6 separate regions of the Homo sapiens genome follow, and all the other regions are linked to region 1. Evidence: promoter capture Hi-C in 16 types of primary human blood cells and fetal thymus (Javierre and others, 2016). All regions are on one chromosome and are shown on one strand. The core of a region is centred on a gene start or on the middle of the fragment in contact, and the rest is flanking DNA. Distances in the headings are between cores, read along the strand shown.

Evidence for each region. Contacts are between HindIII fragments. The CHiCAGO score rates a contact against its expected background, and 5 or more counts as called.
Region 2: a contact is called between a fragment that was not itself captured here and the fragment with the promoter of GPRIN3 in region 1, in 2 of 17 cell types (total CD4 T cells and naive CD4 T cells). The highest score is 6.1, in total CD4 T cells.
Region 3: the fragment with the promoter of SNCA here is called in contact with the fragment with the promoter of GPRIN3 in region 1 in 14 of 17 cell types (fetal thymus, monocytes, total B cells and 11 more); the score reaches 16.1 in fetal thymus.
Region 4: a fragment that was not itself captured here is called in contact with the fragment with the promoter of GPRIN3 in region 1 in 6 of 17 cell types (total CD4 T cells, monocytes, fetal thymus and 3 more); the score reaches 7.1 in total CD4 T cells.
Region 5: a contact is called between a fragment that was not itself captured here and the fragment with the promoter of GPRIN3 in region 1, in 2 of 17 cell types (total CD4 T cells and naive CD8 T cells). The highest score is 6.2, in total CD4 T cells.
Region 6: a contact is called between a fragment that was not itself captured here and the fragment with the promoter of GPRIN3 in region 1, in 1 of 17 cell types (fetal thymus). The highest score is 6.4, in fetal thymus.

The regions. Positions count from the first base shown.
Region 1 is chr4:89,306,334-89,310,212 of GRCh38, forward strand. GPRIN3 (GPRIN family member 3) reads right to left here and starts at 1,467. Exons shown (of 2, transcript NM_198281.3): 1 at 1,282-1,467. RefSeq lists silencers at 1,417-1,466, 1,477-1,546. The HindIII fragment of the contact is 16,857 bases long and covers 1-3,879 here.
Region 2 is chr4:89,909,753-89,913,418 of GRCh38, forward strand. MMRN1 (multimerin 1) reads left to right here. Exons shown (of 8, transcript NM_007351.3): 3 at 2,192-2,298. Among named protein-coding and RNA genes, the nearest start is that of MMRN1, 17 kb to the left of the region's middle. The HindIII fragment of the contact is 2,318 bases long and covers 115-2,432 here.
Region 3 is chr4:89,834,655-89,838,683 of GRCh38, forward strand. SNCA (synuclein alpha) reads right to left here and starts at 2,507. Exons shown (of 6, transcript NM_000345.4): 1 at 2,308-2,507; 2 at 893-1,038. The coding sequence starts at 1,013. SNCA-AS1 (SNCA antisense RNA 1) reads left to right here and starts at 1,747. Exons shown (of 4, transcript NR_045481.1): 1 at 1,747-2,080; 2 at 3,607-3,752. The HindIII fragment of the contact is 7,659 bases long and covers 1-4,029 here.
Region 4 is chr4:89,889,847-89,893,395 of GRCh38, forward strand. It overlaps a transcript of MMRN1 not described here. Among named protein-coding and RNA genes, the nearest start is that of MMRN1, 3.2 kb to the right of the region's middle. The HindIII fragment of the contact is 5,697 bases long and covers 1-3,549 here.
Region 5 is chr4:89,928,290-89,932,010 of GRCh38, forward strand. The region is part of intron 5 of MMRN1 (multimerin 1); the gene reads left to right. Among named protein-coding and RNA genes, the nearest start is that of MMRN1, 35 kb to the left of the region's middle. The HindIII fragment of the contact is 393 bases long and covers 1,940-2,332 here.
Region 6 is chr4:89,868,016-89,871,867 of GRCh38, forward strand. No RefSeq gene overlaps it. Among named protein-coding and RNA genes, the nearest start is that of MMRN1, 25 kb to the right of the region's middle. The HindIII fragment of the contact is 1,802 bases long and covers 1,305-3,106 here.

The DNA of each region.
Region 1 (3,879 bases), core at 217-2,716:
AAGCATTATCAAAGTAAAATATGCAGCAGCACCAACAAGAGCAAACAAAAGCCCACGCAGGAGATGTGTAAATATTTCATGAAGCAAAGCCTTAATCAACCCTCTCTCCCAAATCTTGCTGGTGTTGTAAACACTTCAGTTTCTTCTAGTCCCACCATGACCCAGATACCTTGCAAAAACAAAATAAAAACATAGTCCAATGGATCTTTAAACAAATGTGTTGTGAAAATATTTAGATGGAGCATACCCAAGTACCGCTTTAACCAAGAGGAAGAAGACACCTTACTCAAAGGTGGGTGCTTCTTGAGTGACTGCTCAGAGCTCTGTTTCTCCCCTCCCCCTCCAAGCCCTTGCCTTTTGCCCACCTCCTCGGCTGCTTTGTGGACATTCACATCGTCTTAACCTTGAACTGCCTACACCCCAAGCGGTGATTTCTCCCAATGGCCCTCCAGAAAGCCCTTGAAACCTGGTCTGGATTCGATGCCTTCCCATCACCCAAAATTCACTTCCCAGTGGCATATTAAGTACCTCTCCTTTTTTCCCTCTTTCACTGTCCATTATTGCGTCTGAAATGATGCCTACATCGTTTCCATCTGCCTGGAGAGCATGAAGATCTTCTGTGTGTGTTGGCTGACAGGCTCCTTCAGACCTCTTCTAAAGCCCATCTTGAAAGAACCGTTTATCACCTCTAGTCTCTACCCTGATTTAATGTGGTTCCAAAGTTCGCCTCTATTAGTGAACATGTCTCTACAACGATTTCCCTTTATCAACCCCTGCCCGCCCTTCCTCTTCTTTCTGCCTACCTCAAGAAAACCTATTTACATATGCATTTATGTATGTGTGTGTATATACACACACATACATACATCCATATGTAATATATATTTCTATGTTTTGACCTTAAAGGGGATAAGCATAGGAAAATGAGACAAATGTCACACACACACACACACACACACACACACCCCTCATATTCGGATATTCGCAGTGTGCAGACCCGATTGATTATAAATTTCCCTGCCCACGATCAGCAGGCGTCTTCTCCCATTTACCTTCAAAGCCAGAGCCAAAGAGAGCAATGACCTTGCAGAGAAATTCATCACCTGCGAGAAAGACTGCCCCTCCTAGAGCGCAGGATGGGACAGAGACAAGAGCAACAGGCAAAGGATCCCTGTGCAAAATGTGGGACCGAATCCCTTCCGCATCCCTACAGAGCACACCACCAGGCTCCGGTCCCCCGCGCTGGCCGCCAGGCGGAGGTGCGCAGGGGGCGTCTCCTACCTGCTCTGCCCGGCTCCGCGGCGCGGCGGGGCCACTGCCTGCGCTGTGGCGGGGGCTTCCCGTCGCATATCCCAAGCACCGTCTCTCGGCGCCACACCGATGGCTCCGGCGGGCCCGCGAGCTGAGGTCCTTCTCAGCCCGGTCCCGGAGCGAGCTCCGTGCGTTCAGGAACTGAAATTACTATGCCAAGAGCAGAGGCGGCGCGCAGCAGTCGGGCGTAGACCGAGGGGGCTGCCCCCACCGCGGGGCTGCAGACGCCGCCGCCGCCCCCGCCGGGCGCAGAGCCAGTTTGGAGGTGAGAGTTCACTTGCCCGACTGTTCATCCGTCAGGCCCGGGGTGTACCCATCTGTCCAGCGCTGCCCAGCCTGAGCATCCGAGAGAGGGGCGACAGCTTTGCAGGCGGCGGCGGCGGCAGCAGCAGCGGCGGCAGCAGGAGGCCGAGCTCCGCCCCCTCCAAACCCCCTCCCCCGCCTTCCCGGTCCTGGGGGAAAGTGTTGCAGCCCAGGCTGCTGAGCGCCGGGCCGGGAGCTAGGAGGGGTCTGGTGGGTTGTGGTTCTGCACCCCTGGAGACCAGAGACAGATGGAAAGTTAAGAAGGGATTAAGGAAGAGGGCTGGGGACCCAGAGCGATTTAGCAGGCATTCTGGCCCTTGCTCCCTCCCACAGGTCACCAGACTCCATGGCTGAGTCTAGACTCTAGCAGAAGGTTTCCAATAAAGCCACGTGCAGTGGAGATCTGAAAGCAAGATCATCCGATAAGTAATATGTTTTGCAAAATGTACAGTATCCTGCGTATTCGGAGAGGCACTGCTGACAGTGTTCCTGTCCCCATCCCCTTCCCGCTACCCCATGGGCTTGGAGGGCTTTGAGGGCTTTGGAAATCTTCCCTGTTGAGCAGCTCCAGAATCCTGAATGGATGTGTAGTATGGTTAGCAGCTGTAGATGGTGCAAAATGATACGATGAAAAGAGCTTCATTATTAACTGGGTATTTGTTGGAAGGCTCTGTGAAAAATGCCTTACATACAGCCTCAGCCTCTTTAATTCTTACTACAACCCATTGAGGTGCCTTACCATGTGGACGAGGAAACAGGCTTATATGATCTAAACACTTTGCTTGAGGTCACACAGTAGTAACCTGCTCAGCTGGGATTCAAACCAATCCAAAATATATCCTCTCATCTAGTACACAGGACTCACCTAGGGGGTCTTGTTAAAATGCTGATTGTGATCCAATAGGTCTGGGGTAGGGACTGAGGAAACGCTTTTTTAGTTTTTTGTTGTTGTTGTTTTTTGTTTTTTGCTTCGTCTCCTAGGCTGGAGTGCAGTGGCGCGCTCTCGGCTCACTGCAAGCTCCGCTTCCCGGGGTCAAGCGATTCTCCTGCCTCAGCCTCCCAAGTAGCTGGGATTACAGGCGCCCACCACCACGCCCGGCTAATTTTTGTATTTTTAGTAGAGACAGGGTTTCTCCACGTTGGCCAGGCTGGTCTGGAACACCTGACCTCAGGTGATCCGCCCGCCTCGGCCTCCCAAAGTGCTGGAATTACAGGCGTGAGCCATGCCTGGCCCAGGATAGGCATTTCTAACAAGCTCCCAGGTAATGCCCATGCTACTGGCCAAAAGATCAAACTTTGCGGCACTATTCACAATAGCAAAGACTTGCAACCAACCCAAATGTCCGTCAATGATAGACTGGATTAGGAAAATGTGGCACATGTATACCATGGAATACTATGCAGCCACAAAAAAGGATGAGTTCATGTCCTTTGTAGGGACATGGATGAAGCTGGAAACCATCATTCTTAGCAAACTATCACAAGAACAAAAAAACAAACACCGCATGTTCTCACTCATAGATGGGAATTGAACAATGAGAACACATGGACATAGGAAGGGGAACATCACACACCGGGGCCTGTTGTGGGGTTGGGGGAGGGGGGAGAGATAGTATTAGCAGATATACCTAATGTAAATGAGAAGTTAATGAGTGCAGCACACCAACATGGCACATGTATACATATGTAACAAACCTGCACGTTGTGCACATGTACTCTAGAACTTAAAGTATTAAAAAAAAAAAAAAAAGATCAAACTTTCTAAGCCCCTAGATCAGGGATTTTAAATAAGTTTCTTCTTTTATGCCAGGTGTAGTTAATTGATAGCTGCTTCCTGAAGGTGGGTTAAGAAGGATTCTCTGGCTCTGTCTGGGTTCTCCGGCTAGCCATGTTCATTTTGGTTGAAGACGAAGGGAGCTGGGTCATCTTCCCTACACTAGGCCGCTTCTAAAAGGACATCTTTATGACAGGAGTGGTTGTGGCATAATATTTATGTCATCATAGTATTCATATCATAAATATGCTAAGCACAGATGTCTTTATTCCAGTTCTCCCTCTCATTAAGCAAACTAAGCCAAAGTTTTAGGCCTAACATTTGTATAGGATGAAACACTTTGCAAAGTGTTCATGTGAATAATTTTATTTGTCTTTATACAACACAGTAAGGCAGATATAATTTCACTCTACAGGAAAGGAAACTGAGATAGGGTGACTTTCCTGAGATTATACATTTAATATATTATATGTGTGGTAGGGACTAGGTTG
Region 2 (3,666 bases), core at 24-2,523, 600 kb after region 1:
AAGATTTATTATTTTCTCTTCATGCTAGGTCAGAAAGAAGTTTATAACTTGGTTCATATTCTAAAATTAGGAGAGCTTCTAGTTACAATTATGCATGGAAAAGCAGCTAGGTGAAGCTTTTCTTCTTGTGTCTATTGTAATTAGCCATGTCATTTGATTATCATTTTTTAAAAAAGTCTATGCTGTTGTCCTAAAAGATGGGGCTGAGTAATTGATAAATTATCTGAATTCATGTAGTCACCGTAGCTCAGCTGGGGGTGTTTCCAAAGAGCCTGCAATAAAAACTCCAATTGTTATTCAGGCCATGATGGCTAATGTTATGCAAATAGTCATACAAATAACTCAGGCAATGAATCTGACACATGGCAATCTGGAACAGTGCACAATAAGGATACATAAAATCAAGGTGTTTCTTAGTCCCTTGAGGAATAGCTAAGGTTCATGGTCCAGAGACCTAAGCACATCTTAGGGATTTGGGAGAGCTGAACTCTAGTTCTGTTTTCAGCCCTCACTCTCTTTGTGACAATTTCCTTGCCAATACGAGACACAAAGAATGCATTGCTAATTCTTTAGTAATAAAAAATTTACCACAGTAGCCCCTAGCATACTGCCCTTCTGGATTCAAGGTGAGCTCTTTTTATTTTTTTCTTTTCTTTAAACAAACCATAAGTATTTATCTTTATTCTCGAATCTTATCTTTTTTATGCCTTCTGAGTGGGTGCATTCATTCGCTATTTTTAATACTCGTGTCATAATTGCCACTTTTTCTTTTATTATGTCTGAGCTACATGCAACAGATATTCAGTTTGCCAAAGCAGGAACATTGACCCCAACAATAGTTCAACTAACTGCCTGAGCTCATCCTTACAAACTCTATATACAGTCCCTTTCCAAATTGCTTTGCTTCCTACTTAGCTTTAACTATGAGAGTGCAGATAGTATTTCACTAGACAGAATGATTTAGTGAAATAAATGAGGGTAAATGATTAGCATGCTTTTCAGATGGAAGGGATCTTGTAGCTCATTTTGCAACTGACAAATAGCCTCAGACATACTCGGTTACCTGTCATGTTATAGCAGAAACTGAAACGTAAGTCTCTAAAGGCCGGTCTGTTATAATGCTATTGCTCCACATGTTCACGGTTTACCCATGTAGGTGACTGTTGTCTCCATATAGTTGTACGTGGCAAACTCCAGGATAATAACAAGGGAGGCTAGCCCACATGACATGGGCTAAAATCACAGCTCTACCCCTTTTAGATATGGGACTTTGAGAGAGTTATTTCATCTCTCTGTTCTTTGGATTCCTCGTCAGGAAATGAGGATAATAATAATGCCTTCATCATAAACTAAAATGAAAATTAAGCAAGATAGTATGTACCCATTTTACAGACCCATTTGATAAATAGCAACTAAATATTAAAGTCACATGGGTAAGACTAATATGGCCAAATTGTACTTATGACTTACATTTACAAACACACAGAGCTCACAATTTAGTAGCAGTCACTATATTGATTGTTGTGTTGAACTGCTATAGTTTCCATATTTCTTTTCTGCTGTTCTATGGTTTCATCTTAAAAATAAAATTTCCTCATATTACATCCCTTCTCTCTCTCTGTCCTTCTCTCTCTCTCTCAGAGAAATACTATATGACAAAAATAGTAGGTAGCATAATTTCAAAACTTTGAAGATGAAAAATTCCATGGGAAAATGATAGTGGTTGTCATAATTTCAATTAGATCACGAATATCCAATTTGTTTCAAGTTGTTTGATACTGATCTGGAGGAAATACAGATCTTTTTAAATATAACAATATAGGAAATCATATGAATTGAAGTAGAATAAATTATCTCCATATAACTTTAAAATTGGAATGAAAATAAATTTTAACATTGATTTAGCAAGAAGTATTATCAAGAGAAAAGCTATAATATCTTTAGAAAGTCAATGGCAGGTATCAATTTAAAATACCAAATACCATAACTAGTAATGCTTTTTGTAATGTATTGAAAGAAACCTAAGTTAGGCAATAATATTGATGATGAATATTATGATTATAACAGCCGATACTAAATAAATGCTTGTTATATTGTAGGCATTGCCCCAAAAACTTTACATTTATTATTCCGGCTGATAATTTAATGTGAAACAAATAATCGATTTCCCTCCAATTGCTCAACTCTCTAGATCTCAGAAGATATCCAATCCTGTCTATAGGATGCAACATAAAATTGTCACCTCATTGGATTGGAGGTGCTGTCCTGGATACAGTGGGCCGAAATGTCAACTAAGAGGTACACTCTAATATTAATAATCACAATTCTGAACAATAAGAAACTGATTCTATTGAAGAAAAGAATAGCATTTCCCCTTTTGAACCAAGGTAAATTAACATGTAGCCAAACTCCTAGGACTGTTATACTTTCTAAGCTTTCTAACTTGGTAGCTTTTATAACACTCTGAAATCTCATAAGCTATTCTTTAACTTCTCCCCCCATTTTTATGTTGGATTTATATGATGAGCAAATGGAAATCTGATGAAAGATCTTACTTATTCTTAACAACAAGCTATAGAGGCATGCCTTATTAAAATATCAGGAATGCTAATTTTCAATTTTTAAATAAAGTGTTATTAGAAGTGACTCAATATAAAAATAAGACTACCATCTAGTTTTGTTCCAGTTCAGTTATTTGAAATAATGTGCATATGAATGAAATTTAGTATTAAAGGACATACAAGGTATGTCATGAATAATTCTCTCTTTTTCAAAATTCTAATGGAGCTATTTTTTTTTTTTCAGCTGAGGTTTTAAGGACTTTCTGGTGGCAAGGCTGATCAAACACATGGTAACCCGCTGTGGCCTAATATCCATGTGACTATTATTTTGCTTTTGGCTTTAAACAGGTTTCCTTTGAAAAATAAGATACAGCATCAGCATACATATTTTAAATGAATGAATATTACAAGAAAGGCCATTAGCAGTGGTGGGGAATTCAATCAACAGTATAAGAGACTGTGATTAAAAATTAATAAAACTGTGGAGAAACCGTTATGGCTCACATTAAGAAAAAGAAAATTATAATACAAAAGCTCTAGGAATCCTGCATTTTAGTTAGGGATATTATTTATGGTTTTACTAGCCTATACAATGAGAATCTACAGGCAAATTTCACCATAATGCTATTTGTTCTGGGTCTGGCCTGAATTTCAAAGATGTTATAAAAATTCAATTTATATTCAGACTACAGAATGAATATGTACTTCATTTATAACCAGGTAAAATAAACTTTTAAATAAAATATAATCTATGCTGAAAATATTTGGAAATAAGGAATTTAGCATATTTTAAAAAGACCCAAATATGGCCCTGATTTCTGATTTCCATGAAGTACACAAATATATACTCACAATGGTAAAACATATTTGTGTCTAGAATTGGTGAATTGTTAAAAGTTCTGGATAATATTTAGAATTCTGTTTCTGAAATCTGTATTTCTCTTCTTCTACAAAGAAGGATATCATGAGATTATTAATTCCATCATTATTTCTTGATGATTCAAGTTTGTTTGCAGAGCACATTTCTAGAAATTTAGGTTGTTATTACACATCTTATTAGTAGACATGTGGCAGGGAAAAAGTCTACTAATGAAATGTCATGGAC
Region 3 (4,029 bases), core at 1,257-3,756, 530 kb after region 1:
TAGTTGCCACCAGAGAATGTGAAAAAGCTCAGAGGAGAAAGAAGAGAGGAAGAATGGGCAATGTGTCTGTGTTGAGTGTGTGTGTCTATGCCTGTGGATGAGAGTGTGTGTCTATTCTTTTCCAAGGAATTCAAAGTGGTTTGTAAAATAACACTCAATTGAATACAGTTCAAGTTACAGAAAAGAGAGTCAGAGTTTGGGTGTATACCCCAAGGTGGAACTTTAGGAACAAGTAGGTAATAAGCATCAATTTCTTTATTCTTTTAGTATGTGTGTCATTTGATGGATGAACTATACAAATGTTTCTGAGAGATTAGTAGCAGCCCTCAAGCACTTTTCTCTGTCCTCAGTGTTCACAGAGACCAAATGATCACATGAAGTAACTCTATCAAAGACTAATCTGTTCTTTCCATTTTAGGGCCACAAATAGGTCTCTTTATACACATCACAGGGGCATATCAAAGTCATATTTTAAAAATCAGAATGGATTAAAATTGACAAACATTTTTCATGATGGTAAAAGAAATCACAGATCCATCAATGATTTTGATTCTTAAGAATATTCTTGATTATTTTTTAAAAGACTATGAGTTTTTAAAACTGTTCTCTGAAATAGAATTATGTAGGTACAGAAACATTCATTTTTAAAAAGTCATAAATATTAGGGCAAAATTAAAAATCTGGAAAAGCAAACAGTCGCATTTTTTACTATTAGCTCAAATACACACGTTCACATTCACCTACCTACACATACCTCTGACTCAGTCCACCTTTTTGACAAGCAATGATGCAAAAATGAATCAAGAGAGAGAACTACCAGCATTTAGAGTATTGATTATCCTAACCCATCACTCATGAACAAGCACCAAACTGACATTTGGGGTTTACCTACCTACATAGAGAACACCCTCTTTTGTCTTTCCTGCTGCTTCTGCCACACCCTGTTTGGTTTTCTCAGCAGCAGCCACAACTCCCTCCTTGGCCTTTGAAAGTCCTTTCATGAATACATCCATGGCTAATGAATTCCTTTACACCACACTGGAAAACATAAAATACACTTTGAATGAGAACTTTCGGGGAAAAATAAACAAAAAACACTGAAAAATCATGAGAAACCCTCCAAAGTGTGAGACTCTTTTAAGTGTACACTCATTTAACCATTGGACAAAGCAGACATTTTTAGCTCTGGCATTAAAAATTTAGCATCTCCCATCCATCTTGGCTAGTAAAAGTCTAGCCACCTAACCACGGATTAGGATGAATCCTCTGAGTTGTTATTACTGCATTTCAGAAGTGGAGTTGCATGAAAAGATTAACCCCTTTTTTAAATTCCCGGGGTCTAAAGGGTAACAGTATGAGTTAGAAGCATGGAAGCTGGAGGCTTAGGGTCAGGGGTATCCTTAACATGAATCCCAGAAGAAGGCTAACAGGTTGATGGTGGAAAGGCGTAGGCAACAGAACTAACTGCTCACTCGGGGTGTGGTTCAAACTCAGGCAAACAGCAGGCCCAAGTGTGATGGTTCTAATCCATCCAACATCCACCCCCGCCCTCAGCTATCTACCCTGAGCAGGCGCCGCTCACACTCGCGGGCCGTCTCCAACCCCGCGCCAGCCACCCGAGGGGGCGTTCTCAGCCTCCACCCTAGCGGACCCCGCGCCAGCACTTGTTAACCCGTTACCACCTGTTGACTTGGCCTCCTTGCACTTCCATTTCATTATTTGCCAAACGCAGCTTGCTTACTTTACAGAGAAAAACCAAGAGAGCGGGCAGACAGATTTTATGTGAGAGAAAAGTTGGATGCTCACGCTCCATGGAGCATCCTCGCGTTTCCCGGGGAAAAGCGGATCCCGGAGAAGCAGCCTAATCTCTCAGCCCTTGTGGAGAAGGGAATATCAGAAGCAGGACGAAAGCCAGGTCAAGTCTCTTTCCTTAGGCTCCCCAAAGGGACAAGTACTCACCTCCCAGAGACCTGGCCCAGCGGGTCCTCATGGCAGCACCACCCCCTCCCGGTGCCCACGACCATTCGTCTCCCATCCGGCGTTCTCCAGGATTTCCAAAGACGCCCGTTTAGATCCACAGGTACTTACCTGAGTCCCTCTGCTTCTCCACAACTCCGACTCCTCCCCGCCTCTCTCTTTTTTTAAAAAAAAAATTTAAACAATTCCCAAATAATATTTAATAGGAAAGAAGAAGGAAAAGGAGCGCACAGGAAGGGCGGAGGCGGCACCCGGGGGGGACTGTCCCCAGAGGAGGCCGCTGTGAGCCGGCGACGCGAGGCTGGGGGAGTGGGAGGCAAACCCGCTAACCTGTCGTCGAATGGCCACTCCCAGTTCTCCGCTCACGAGGGTGGAAAGGCAGAAGGCTTGAAGGCAAGGCGTGAGGGAGCGCCCAGGACGCTCTCGGAGGGGCCGGGCCGGGGTCTGCGCTGCAGCCCGCACGCACCTCACTTCCGCGTCGCGGCGCTCGGTCGCTCGCCCCCTCTCTTGGGCCCCTTCTGGTCGTCGCCGTCCTCCTCCTCCTAGTCCTCCTCCTTCTCCTTCTCCTCGGCTCTCCGCCCCCACCGCTGATTTGTCAGCGCTTCTGCCCGCCCCTCTCCCGGCGCTCGCTGCTTTCCCTGCAGCGTGCTCCTCGTCCCTATCTCGGATGGGGATGGGGCAGGGGGCGCGGGGTGAGCCATCAACTCCAGCCGCCTGCCTGGCCGCGCAAGGCGGGAAAGTGGGGGCGCTTTTGCGCCTCACGTTAAGTTTAGGGTCACGAGCACTCTTGTGGAGATCGGGAGCGGTTGGGCTAGGGATGATGCCTCTTCCTCTTTCCCCTTCCCCTCCCTTCTTGTCCCCGCCTTTCCTCTGGGTCCTCCCGGGGACCACCCCCTACCCCTCGTCAGAGTCGCCCTGGGAGAGCCGAGGGCCTGAGGGTCGACCACCAAGGGCAGAGCCTATCCCTTGGGGAGCTGCTGGAGGAGACAGGCAGCGCCGGGAGGTGGCTCACACCGCACCGCCGAGAGCGCTTTGCCCTCGCATCGCTGAAATTTAATCACGGTCACAGGTTACAACGTTAGGGGTCGCTTTAGTTCAAATATCTTCAAGGTTTTCGTTTGCTCTTAATCTAGGAAGAGCCGGAAAGGGTCCTGAGGGTGAAAGGGAGACTACTAAGGAAGAGTCACAGGTTGAGGAGGCAGGAGAAGGCTCAGCAAATCCTCTTTCCACGCCACTATCACCATTTTCCTTTCCACCAATCAGCGCCTGCCAGACGCTGATTTTCCCATCAGTGGAACAAGGAATAAATATTCCCCAGCCGTCTAAAACAAGCGGTCCTAAGGCTTTTCGCTCTAGAAATGGGACTTACTTTGCAGACCTCCCTTTATCTGGGAGACAAATCCAGCGTGATTTAGCCTACCGGACCATCATATCCAATTTCTTCTTCAGCCCCTTCTGAAAGGGAGATGCTACACACCACTCACCTTTCTGACTTCTGATTCTCGTTGCCCTCAGAATTGACACCCCCTTTTCTCTCCCCCCACCCACCACACGCACATGCACACAGACATACACACGCGAACTTCAAGACAATTTTTGCATCGCTTAACACATTTTCACCTCTTTCAGAGCTGGAAGACAGCTGTTCCTGGATCACACCAGAATGGAGAAGCAAGCTCCTCCCACTAGCAGAAAGCCTTTGCTTTCTGTGCCTGGATTCGGAAGATTAGTTAAGCACTGGAAGAGGAGGGGGGAAACAACAACTCGTTTTTGCTGTATGTTTTTTTTTTAATTGTTTTTATATTTATAGAAAGTTATGCTTTGTCTGATTCTTGCGCTAATTTGGGTTCTGAAATTTGAGTAAAATCAAATTTAAACATACAAAACAACTTTAAAACCACAAGGAACAGGAAGCAAATGATTATACATAAAAGACATATAGAAGATAATGCATATGTGTTCAGTGGAAAATAGAAAAGCATGAAAGTAAGATCACAAATATTTATTATTTAAACTCTTCCTTGAACTATTGGTCTGCCCTTTGGAAAAGCA
Region 4 (3,549 bases), core at 478-2,977, 580 kb after region 1:
TTTTTAAAACAATCTCTAGTACATTCTCATTTCTTTCCAGACCCACCCCTGCATTTCTATACCTTGGAAGACATCTTTCCAACCTCTTGCCTTATCTCTAGCCTTTGGAGGACCTTTCCTCCAAAGTCACTCAGTGAAGACCTGCCATGCCTTGAAGCTACTGATTTTCATTCTTTTCTTTTCACTCAGCTTTTGGAGAGCCATGGCAGTGTACTCAGGCGAGGCTTCTTGATGAAGAAATTTCTGGCTCCTCTGTTGGCCTTCTCTGAGACTACCCCAACAGAAGAATGAGGGTTGGGACACCTTGTTATAACCTCATGAGGTGGAAGTTTAATTCTCCCTTCAGGCTTTGCTGGCAAGGGTGGGTTCTTTTGTCTTTTATTTTGCTTTTTTTTTTTTTTTTCCCCTGTGCTCTATGGTGGGAGTAGAGTGGTTATTTTCTAAAAACTTTCTCTTCTTTCCAGGCTGACAATTCTCTAGTCCTTGGCCTAAAGAGAGCTTTTATTGGGGCTTTTATTGTTTCTGCCCATTGGCGTTCCTAGTTTGCCAAATTCTCCAGTACCCAGAAATGAGGCAAAAGTAAACTTGGGAACTCAGTGCTTCATTGTTCCTTGGGTCACCTAGCCATTCTGCCTTCTTTTCTCCACTCTTCAGAGTCTTATTCTATTTTTTCTATATATAATGTCCATATTTTCAGATGTACTTAGCAGAAGGAATAGGGAGATATGTCTATTCCATATTTCCAGAAGTGGAAGTCACTAATGATAATCACTTGATAACCAGATACAGCTTTCCATTAAGAAAATGAAAATATGGTTATTTCTAAAATGATCAAAAGAAATGCGTTTTGAACTCTTTCACTTCAAGGGTACTGTTCTGCGTAAATGGGAAATATAAAATCAGCAATGACATGGTTTTGTGAACTATTCTTACATTCATTTTCTCATGAGGGGCATTTGGTCATCTTTATCAGTATGTTCCTTATGATCTTATAAAGTTAAAATTTTAATATTAGGACAAATATGTTGTTTTTTTTTCCTGATAAACTAATATGTTTCTCTCACTTAATATTAAGAATTATATAATTCATTAATTGTCCATCTTCCCTTTCCTGCCAGCCCACTCAAACCTAAATTTTCTTACTTCCAATTTATTTGCTTATCTTAAATTTTTCTAGCATCACTACTGCTTCATTATCTTTTATTCTACAACTCCCAGTCTTTGGTTTATTATTCTAATGTGGCTGTGACGGCTTCAAAATAAACCTTCTCATATTTATTTTGAGAATAGATAATATAGAAACAATGGGCTTTCTGAATTTTCTTTAGGAGTAACTTACAGGAGGCAATCTGACTGAATGGGTATTTCAGAAGACTTTTGAAGGTGTGTTCCCGGAACAAGTTCATTATATTTATTTAGATTACTTTTTTTTTCTTTTGTGTGGCTATAATAATGTGAAATAGAGCCCTCTTCAACCCATTTGTTATCACTATACATAGGAGTATGGTCATAGCTTCATCTATTCGTTCACTGATTCAACAAATATTTACCGAATACCTATTGAATCAGGATTGGGCATAAATATCTGTTCTAACAATTACTAATGTGTTACCCTAGGAAGTTATTTAACTTCTTTAAGTTTAACTTCCCATGAGTATAACAAGAATAGAATACTTACCTAACATGTTTGTAAGAATTAAATAATATGCCAAATTTAACTTACCTAGCACATCGACTCATCAAAATCATGCAGAAATCAGTTTCTCTTCTTCTCCAGCCCTTTTGCTGTATGTTGATAACCCCCTTTGTCCACATGTAAATTTGACAGGTTTTCAATATTTTTCAAACACCATTAAATTGAAAAAGCTCTAAAATTTGTTTTCTTCTATTATTTTTTGACAGATATGTCTTATGGAGGAAGGTAATAATGAAATCATATTTTGGATGTTTTAAACTATTTTAAGAAAATAGGAATTTCTCATGTGAAAAATGAAGAAAACAGCTGCTGAAAAATCCTATTAATCTGGTGGAAGTTAGCCCATACCCCCAACATTTTACAAAGAATAAGTCTTGCAGCTATAAAAATGCTTTGAATAGTACACAGCACCATCTACAGTGAACTCCTCAATCTAAGATTCTCTTTTAACTCACATTTATATTTTCTTTTAACTTAATAATCTTTTTTTGTTTTTTTTTCTTGTGGTTAGAAAATTAATTCATATGCATTATAAGGTGGAAAAGAACCAAACCCATTATCTCATCACCTACAGACAACCCATGTTGCAGTATATAGTGAATCCTATGTTTATGATACAATGAAAAATGACATAAAAATCTCCTGATAACTCATAATATAATAAATTTCATGATTTTTATCTTATAAAATATTCATGGTGAACAAATGGCAAGATGGTAAAACATAATTTAATATGAACAACCAAGTGGGAAATGGGAGGTATAGCAAAATGACAGGGTCCAGTTATACAAAACTGATGATATAGTTTAATCCAACAATAGTATTTTAGTATCTAGTATCTAGTATAATAGTATCTAGAAGAATGAGTAAACTGAGTACTCTTCAGCCAGTCATCTCAGCAATATTATTTTTCTTAATTGTTATTTAATGAGTATTAATTAGTCTCAGAAAGAAGAATTTGAGACAAGGTCTCTGACAATTTCTGGAGTATTTTATACCTCTAATTAAGGGCTGATCCATATACCCAAAATCACTAAATGAGCTTGAGATTCTCTGGGGAGTTAAAGTGCAAGATGGCTTAGTAGATCAATAGTGAGATACAGAACCTTTAGCCTTTTGATTTCAGGGTCCCTTGTAAGCTAGGATAGGGGTGAGCAAAAGTCATTATTGGTCAATACCTTATAAGTGGTTAAATGAATTGCTTAGCTTTGTTCAGTTTTTATTATCATTGGATAACTATTTGTTATCAGTTATAGATCCAATGGGTGACATTTTACCACTAAAGTTCACTTGCCAGACCAGGTTTGAACAGTCTTTCAAACTGTAGAAGAAAACAAAAAATCAGTGAATGTCATTATTTTGGCAGTTTTGTAAATCTTCAAGACAGTCCATTCATCTATTTTTACTAAAGCTAGGAAAATTGGTGTAAAATTGAATATAAATAGGAACATTTTTCCTAAATTTTATGAAATTACTGCTCTTCCATAAGCCAAAGCTAGTTTCTTCTGTGTTTTCCAGATAAAGACACTGTAAAGCCTTTTTCTTTCTACTGAAAACCATGTTTGTATTGTGACAGTTGTGCAGTTTCATTGCTCTTTTGCTCTTTTTAGTAACTAATCGTTTCCTGGATTGTCTCTGCTGGACCTTTTTGCTCCTTTACTAAGGCAAGGTTTGTGGATTGTTCTGTGGTATATCTGAGAAACGGATGCTTTTTACTCCATATCAGAGTCGATTGGGGTTGCTGATGATTGTCTTAGTTTAAATAAATACTCTCTAGTAGGTCAACAATACACTTACGGAAATAAATGGCAAAGATTGAGGGAAGAAAAAAATATTAATCCCAAGTAGTTAGT
Region 5 (3,721 bases), core at 886-3,385, 620 kb after region 1:
ATAAAAACGCAGTTAGGGGATCAAGATAGCTAGTTGCATGGTTGTCTCAATACTATTGATGGAGACATTGAGGATAAATCTGAAGTGCATTATTATCCCCCAAATTTTCTAGGTTATGGTGTAAAATCTATTAAATATATCCTAAAACATTCCAGCTATTATTAATATTAAAGAATAATAATTTATATATGTGAATAGGCTTTGCCTGAATTTTGTGCTCTTCAAACAGTGGGCTTAAAAGCAGGCTATGTTTCTTTCTGGAGGATCAACAGGATAATCCATTTCCTGCTAATCCAAGATGCTGGCAGAATTCATTTTCTTGCAGTTGTAGGACTGAGGTCTCTGTTTTCTTGATGTCTGTAAACTGAGGCCCATTCCCAGCTTCTAGAAGCCACTGCATTTCTTGACTCATCATCCTCCATCTTTAAAGCCAGCTACATTGTGTTGAGTTCTCCCTGCATCTTTCTGACTATGTAACTCCGTTGGACCTACCTGGATAATCAGAAAAATCTCTCTATCTCAAGGTGCTTAACTTTAATCACAGTTGCCAAGTCCCTTTTGCCATGTAAGGTACATATTCATGGATACAGGGAATTAGCATATGGACACCTTGGGGGAAAGGGGTGTGTATTATTCTGCCTACCACAGAGATTTATGTATAGTGAGTAATTGTTATGATAGTGTTATACACAGGATACAATGGGACCACTTGACACTTGCAACAAATCCAATCTAAGGGGACCAGGGAAAGCGTCTAGAAAGAGAAACCATCTCAATTGATGTTAACCATGCAGAAAGGTTTCGGGTAGGGCAAGGATGTTCTAGGCATGCAGTTAGTTTGATTCCTGGGAGCGTCCCAGTCGGGTTTATTGTATGAAACTTGTCTGTTTGCAAGTTTCAGGATTACTGTTTTTTTTCCTTTTGCTTTATTCATTAAAAAACTCAGTGTACAACCCAATTTTTATCATTCACAAGTTATCTTTTCTCTATTGATTTAAAAAAGATAAATAGGTGGATATTTAATATATCATCTACCAGTATGGATGCTTACATAGCTCAACAACAATTATGTTTTTTAATCATATAAATAATTGCTGCTACTCAACCACTAAAAGAAAGACCCTGTCCTACATATCTGGTATGGCCCAACCTTACCAATGCTGAGCATGAGAAGGAAACATTTTTCCCCCCTGAAGTGACAGCATGAGAAAGAAGTCAAATAGAAACAGTATGTAATTGACTATAACCATCTGAATGAGATTTGTTTAGCAAGATTTGGTTCTCATGACCTAACAGAATTAGCCTGTCAACTGTTTTTTTGTGACCTACCAGCCTACTACAAAGATTCTGGCACTGACACAGGAGAAAAATCACACACTCACAGCAACAGCATTAATAATGAAACTCCCTCCGCAATAGGAGGAATTAATTGTGTACTGAGCACAGTCATTAATTATAAGAACCAGAGGGCTTGTAGTTAATGAATATTCTTACAGGAAACAAAAACTAAACCCACCTCCAAGGTGCTGTGCTTGCCTAGCGAAACCACAGCTTCCTCCCTAGTTTACTTTACATCCAAGGTGAAAAACACTGCGTAATCTGACAGTAGCCATAGAAACTGTTGAAAATCAAATGTCTCAACTCCGTAAGAGGAGGTGGATACCTTAAGAGGTACCTAAATGTTATTAAAAGGCCATACATTCACAATTACAGAAGGTGAATGCTAAGGTATCTGATATCAAATATATCTGGTAAGTCACCAAATGTAATATGCTTCTAAGAAAGTGGAAGCATATGAGTCACAGGAAACAGAAACAAACAGAATTAAAATGATGTGCCCACTCAACTATTAACATAAAGCACTTTGACATGTTCTTGGGAAATCAGATTCTTGTACAGATGCTTGTTTAGTAACAAATTGTAGAAATGTTACCTGAAAAGCTTCTGATCCCAAAACACATTTTTAAGCTAATAATATGTTTAATATCTTTTCAGACATTGCTGTGATTTTGCACTTTCTTCAAAGTATTTTTCCATAAAAGTGTTAAAGTGTAACAGCTAAAGTAATTTACATTACTCATTTTCATTGTTTTTTCTCCCAATTATGTTGATCAAGATTTTGTGCTGAGTTTTTGCTTATTGTTTTTCTTATTAGGACTTTTAGGCATGTAGTTTTTTGTTTGCTGAAGTTAAACATTTATTGTCATTGTCCACAACTAATAAATTCAATAAAGCCTAAATTTTATTGTACCTTTCAATCTTGAAAAACTGTAAGATTATAAATTTAAAGAAGGTCGAATCTGAACCTTAAATATTTTATTATATTTCATCAAGCTTTTGATGTCATGAGAATTAGAGTCATTTTTAACTAATGGGAAATGACTAAATGTTCTTATAGAAAGAGTAATATTAATATTACTATTGAATAGTACCTTACACTCAATGATACTTACATATTCTTTTTTGTAAGACCAGAAATCGAATTTTCTAAATTTTACTTACTCTATATAGCATATAGAATGTATTTCATCAATATTTATTGAATAAATGGGTGACTGGTTAAATGCTAAGCAAAATGTAGAAGATAAAAATGCTTTAAAGCCTTTCTGGTGTGATTATCCATGTTATTTGATACAAAAGCTAGGACTATTTCTGTATAATTTATCTTAATTGTGGCTAGTTAGTCTTTTCTAATTCATTTAGCCTTTCCTTAGTACTTTAAGGCTGTGTGTCATATTGATTACTATTCTATATTTCATGTTTTGTTTTCTTTTTTCCATTACATACAAATTGATCTTTGGACTTTTAAACTTACTTTAGTTTCCACTAAGTTTATAAAAAGTAAAATAAAATATCTTTCCCATTTTATTTTCATCTGGCAACATGGATCTTTAGGGTGCAGGATTTCCAGAGAAATGTTTATCCATCTAAATTTTCATATTTACAGCTTCGTTTTTGTACAAAATTGTCAATATCAAGATGCTCAAACAATACATCATTCTATTTTTAATAATCACTCTTTCACATATTTTTATGTAAGTCCCTCATGTATGTTAAAAACTTACTTACAAAATGGAGACATGTGGAGCCTATTTTTTTAATCCTAGGATGATCTTTCTTTAATAGACTACATAGTAGCTATAATTGATGGCAATATCCCATTGTACAGACTTTCCTGTCTAAAATGCTTTGCATTGTATTGTGTGTATTTTACATTATAGTCATTGATTATTGTGTTAGTCCATTTTCATATTGCTATTAAAAAAACCTGAGACAGGGTAATTTATATAGAAAAAGAGGTTTGATGGACTCACAGTTCCACATGGCTGGGGAGGCCTCACAATCAAGGCAGAAGATGAAGAAGGAGCAAAGCCACGTCTTACATGGTGGCAGGCAAGAGAGCATGTGCAGGGGAACTGCCCTTTATAAAACCATCAGATCTTGTGAGACTTATTCACTATCATGAGAACAGCATGGGAAAAATCCCTCCCCATGATTCAATTTATCTCCCACTGGGTCCCTCCCACAATGCATGGGTATTATGGAAGCTACAATTCAAAATGAGATTTGGGTCAGGACAATGCCAAACCATATTATTTCACCCCGGCCCCTTCCAAATCTCATGTCCTCACATTTCAAAACCAATCATGCCTTCCCAACAGTCCCCCAAAGTCTTCATTCATTTCAGCATTAACTCAAGAGTCCACAGTCTGAAATCTCA
Region 6 (3,852 bases), core at 956-3,455, 560 kb after region 1:
AGTAGGGGGCTCTTCCAAGCTACACATAAAGAGATATCCTAAAGTGGAAAAAATATTAAGTGAGATTAAAATGAGTTAGTTATATTCCATATCTATTTTGTCAAGCAAAATAAGAATTTGAAAGGATTGATGTAGGAAAAATGGAAAAGGATAAATTATTAATACTTTGCTAAGTAAGGAGAACAAAGGTATGTGATAAATTACTCTTGAGTGATAAAGAAGACATTAGAGAGAAAAAGTTTGAATTTTTTTTAAAGAAAAAAGATATAAAGAAGAGAAATGGGATAATGAGAGATCAAGAATATTTTAGGCTAAATTTCTAGAAGGTTGTTCTAAGAAAGAATACTTGATACAACAGACTGGTATTTCACTAGGATTGCTGAGAGTAGGATATAAGAGAACACATAGATAAATAAATGGTTGAAATTGGCAACTTTACCTCCAGCCTTACTTGGCAGTTATGGAGTGAACCAGAATAGGGGAGTCATGGAGATAAAGTTGCTGACTGTAGGCACTCCTGCCAAAGAACTCATGCCCATAGCAAAATTCTACAATAAATGAGTCTGCTTTTCCTATACCAGACTGGGGCATTTATTTTCTGTGAGAACAAAACCATTTTTAAAAATCATTCTTCCTTCTCAGCTCTGTCTCCAAATGTCCTACCCTGACTATAGTTCTTGAGGGAAAGAAAAAAAACCAAATTGATCATTTTATTATTTGACCTGATTTGCATTTTAAGTTCTATGTGACTGTCAGATATTGGGCTTCCCAGAGGCTACTCAGTTCTAGTGTAGTCCAGGTCAGCCTCTTCCCTCACAGAACATCCTTATCTCTACTGATGCTCAGAAGAGAATATCCTAGTTGTAAAGTGGAGAATTCAGTTGCTATTGGTGTAAATCAATTATGAGCATTGATTTCATTTGTTTTGATGTTAATACTTCTAAAATTTGATCAAACAGCTTTTTAACTACCATCAAGTGTTAATTTTGAAAAAGCAGTATTTTATTCAAGATCCTACAAATATTGTTCTTCAAGATTGAATGCCAGTAAAGGCTGTAATTCTATAATTTGATCTACTTGTGTTTCTGAAGCTAAGACAGTTATTATGACTTTCTTTAATTTTAAAAAAGGGAGAAAAATAGAAAAAATTTTTAGTAAATCTAGAATTTGATAGTGCCATCTGTTGTTTAGAAACAAAATTGCATGCCCTTAAAAGCTACAATTTCTTTCTCTACTAATTTTCAAGAAAAGGTTAAGACTAATTTTGTCCATGTTCTCAATTTATTCAAGAGAAAAAGTTACAAAGCTTTGTTCATGCTGTATTTCCACATACAAAGGCGTTTGTCATCTCTTTTATACTGATTAACATGTAGAATCTTGAAATTGTTATAAATATGACGTATTTGCCTAAAAATTAGCAACTATTAAAAATATGCCTAGTTCAGATTATGCTTTAAAATAATAAGTAAAATAATAGATATCAGAGATAAAGATACTTTCAGTTTTGAAAGATAATGCACCTTAATTTACATTCCATTGTTAAGATAAGAGTGGCTTTTAGTTCCAAATAATGAAGATAATTCTAGATTCACTAAAAAAATTTTCCTATTCTTCTTTCTTTTTTAATTAAAAAAAGTCATTCTTAGCCTCAGAAACACAAGTAGATTAAATTCAACTATGAGTAAACATGTGACTATGGCAACACATAAATATATATCTTACACTTGGAGGAATAAAATTAATATTTCAAAATATTTAACTTATGATAATGTGAATTTTATAATTTCTTCTCTTTAAATACACCTAATGTTTCAAATGTTTTATGTAATTAATCTTACAGATACAGGGAAAAGTAAAAGAATACCTTTATTAAGAAGAAGCAAGCCACACCCCCATCGCACGCCCTGGCAAGGGGGACAAGGGAACATTTCCCATTACATTTACAAGGAAAAAAGATAGTTCAAATTACACATGATTGGTTTTTGTGATCAATTTACTACTAAAAATTTTAAGTGTTTACTTCAGTGTTTAAAAAAACAATTCTATAATAGGCTTTGTAATTTCAAAGAAATATGTTGAACTTTATTTTATTTTTTTCATAATAAGCTAATATATTGCATATACACATTATTTATTGCTTCATCTCTGTCACTGTTTCTCCACAGTTTGTCAAACAGATTTGTTGGTATAATAAAATTGTTAACACACTAACAGATAAAAGGAAATTCAGGAAAGTTCTGAACAATTTAAGTTTGCAATGTTACAGAAGGATCCTTAGCCTGGGTTACATTTCAGACCACTTTCTTAATGCTGTTGTTCACAGAAGTAGTTTAACATTTCATAGTAGCTTATTTCAACTTAGTTTGAGGCAGTGTTTTCCAATGTTATTAAATTTACACGTGAAATTGTAAACTCCTTTTTAGAATTAGATTGTCCTCTGTAGTCATTCTAAGGGTAATTTTAAATTGTATGCTTTTGTAAAGTTCTTATACTTTACAATAAGTAGTATAATATTACTCGAAGGTAAGCAGTAATAAGTTAAAGATGGACACTATAAACCCTACAGAAACTAAAATGAGTCTATAAAGAGTTATAGCTAATAAGCCAACAAAGGAGAATCATAAGTAGTATCATAAAATATACTCTATTAATGCAAAAGAAGGTAGGAAAAGAAAAAAAGAGGAGAGGCAAAGAACGGTTAGGACAAATATAAGACAACAAGACAGGAGGCTTAAATTCAACATGTAACAATCACACTAAATGTAAAAGTCTAAACACTGCAATTAAAAAGCACGCAATATCAGGTTAGATAAAACAGTAAAACCCAACTACGTGCTGTCTACGGTAAATCCAATTTAAATATAAAAACATAATTAGGTTACAAGTAAAGAGATGGAATAAGATATTCTATGCGAACATTTATCATAGAAAGGTGGAATGGACATATTAAATATAAGACAATGCAGATTTCATATCAAAGACTATTACCAGTGATACAGAAGATGATTTCATAATGATAAAGTGTTCAATTAATGAAGAGGACATAATAATCTAAAATGTTTATGCACTGTATCAGTTTTGTTTTGTTGCATAACCAATTACCAGAAGCTTAATGTCTTTAGAAGACACCCATTTATCAGCTCACAGTTCTGTGGCTCAGAAGCCTCAACATAACATTTTCGATTCAGTTTCAAAAGGTAAAATCAATGTGGCAGCTAGACTGTATTCTAGTCTGGATTTCAGGAGCCTCTTCCAAGCCCGCATGCTGTGACAGAATTCAATTTCTTGCAGTTATAGAACTGAGGTCTCCATTCCTTCACTGGTTGTTAGCTGAAGGTCACTCAGCTCCTAGAGGTCAACTCTATTTTGCCACATGGCCCCCTCTGTTTTCAAAGCCAGGAACAAGGAATCCTTCTCACATGGAATTCTTCTAATACTTTGAATGTCTTTCACCAGAACCTTTGTCCCTTTTAAGGACTAACCTGATTAGGCCAGGTTCACTGAGGATAATCTCCAAGGATTATACAGGGCATGCACATCAGGGAGCAAGATCTTGGGGACCACCTTAGAATTCTGCCTATTCCAGGTATCTAATAACATGAAAATACAAGAAGCCAATACTAACAGAACTACGAAGAGTAATAGACAAATGTATGATTATAGTTACAGATTTCAACACACCTTAACAATATATGAAATAAGTGGACAGAAATTCAGTAAGGATATAAAAGACTTAAATAACACTATCAATCAACTTGATCTAATTGATATTTTTAGAACACTACACCTGATGTCAGCAGAATAAACAGTATTTTCAAATGTGTATTGGACATCTTACAAGATAGACCATAT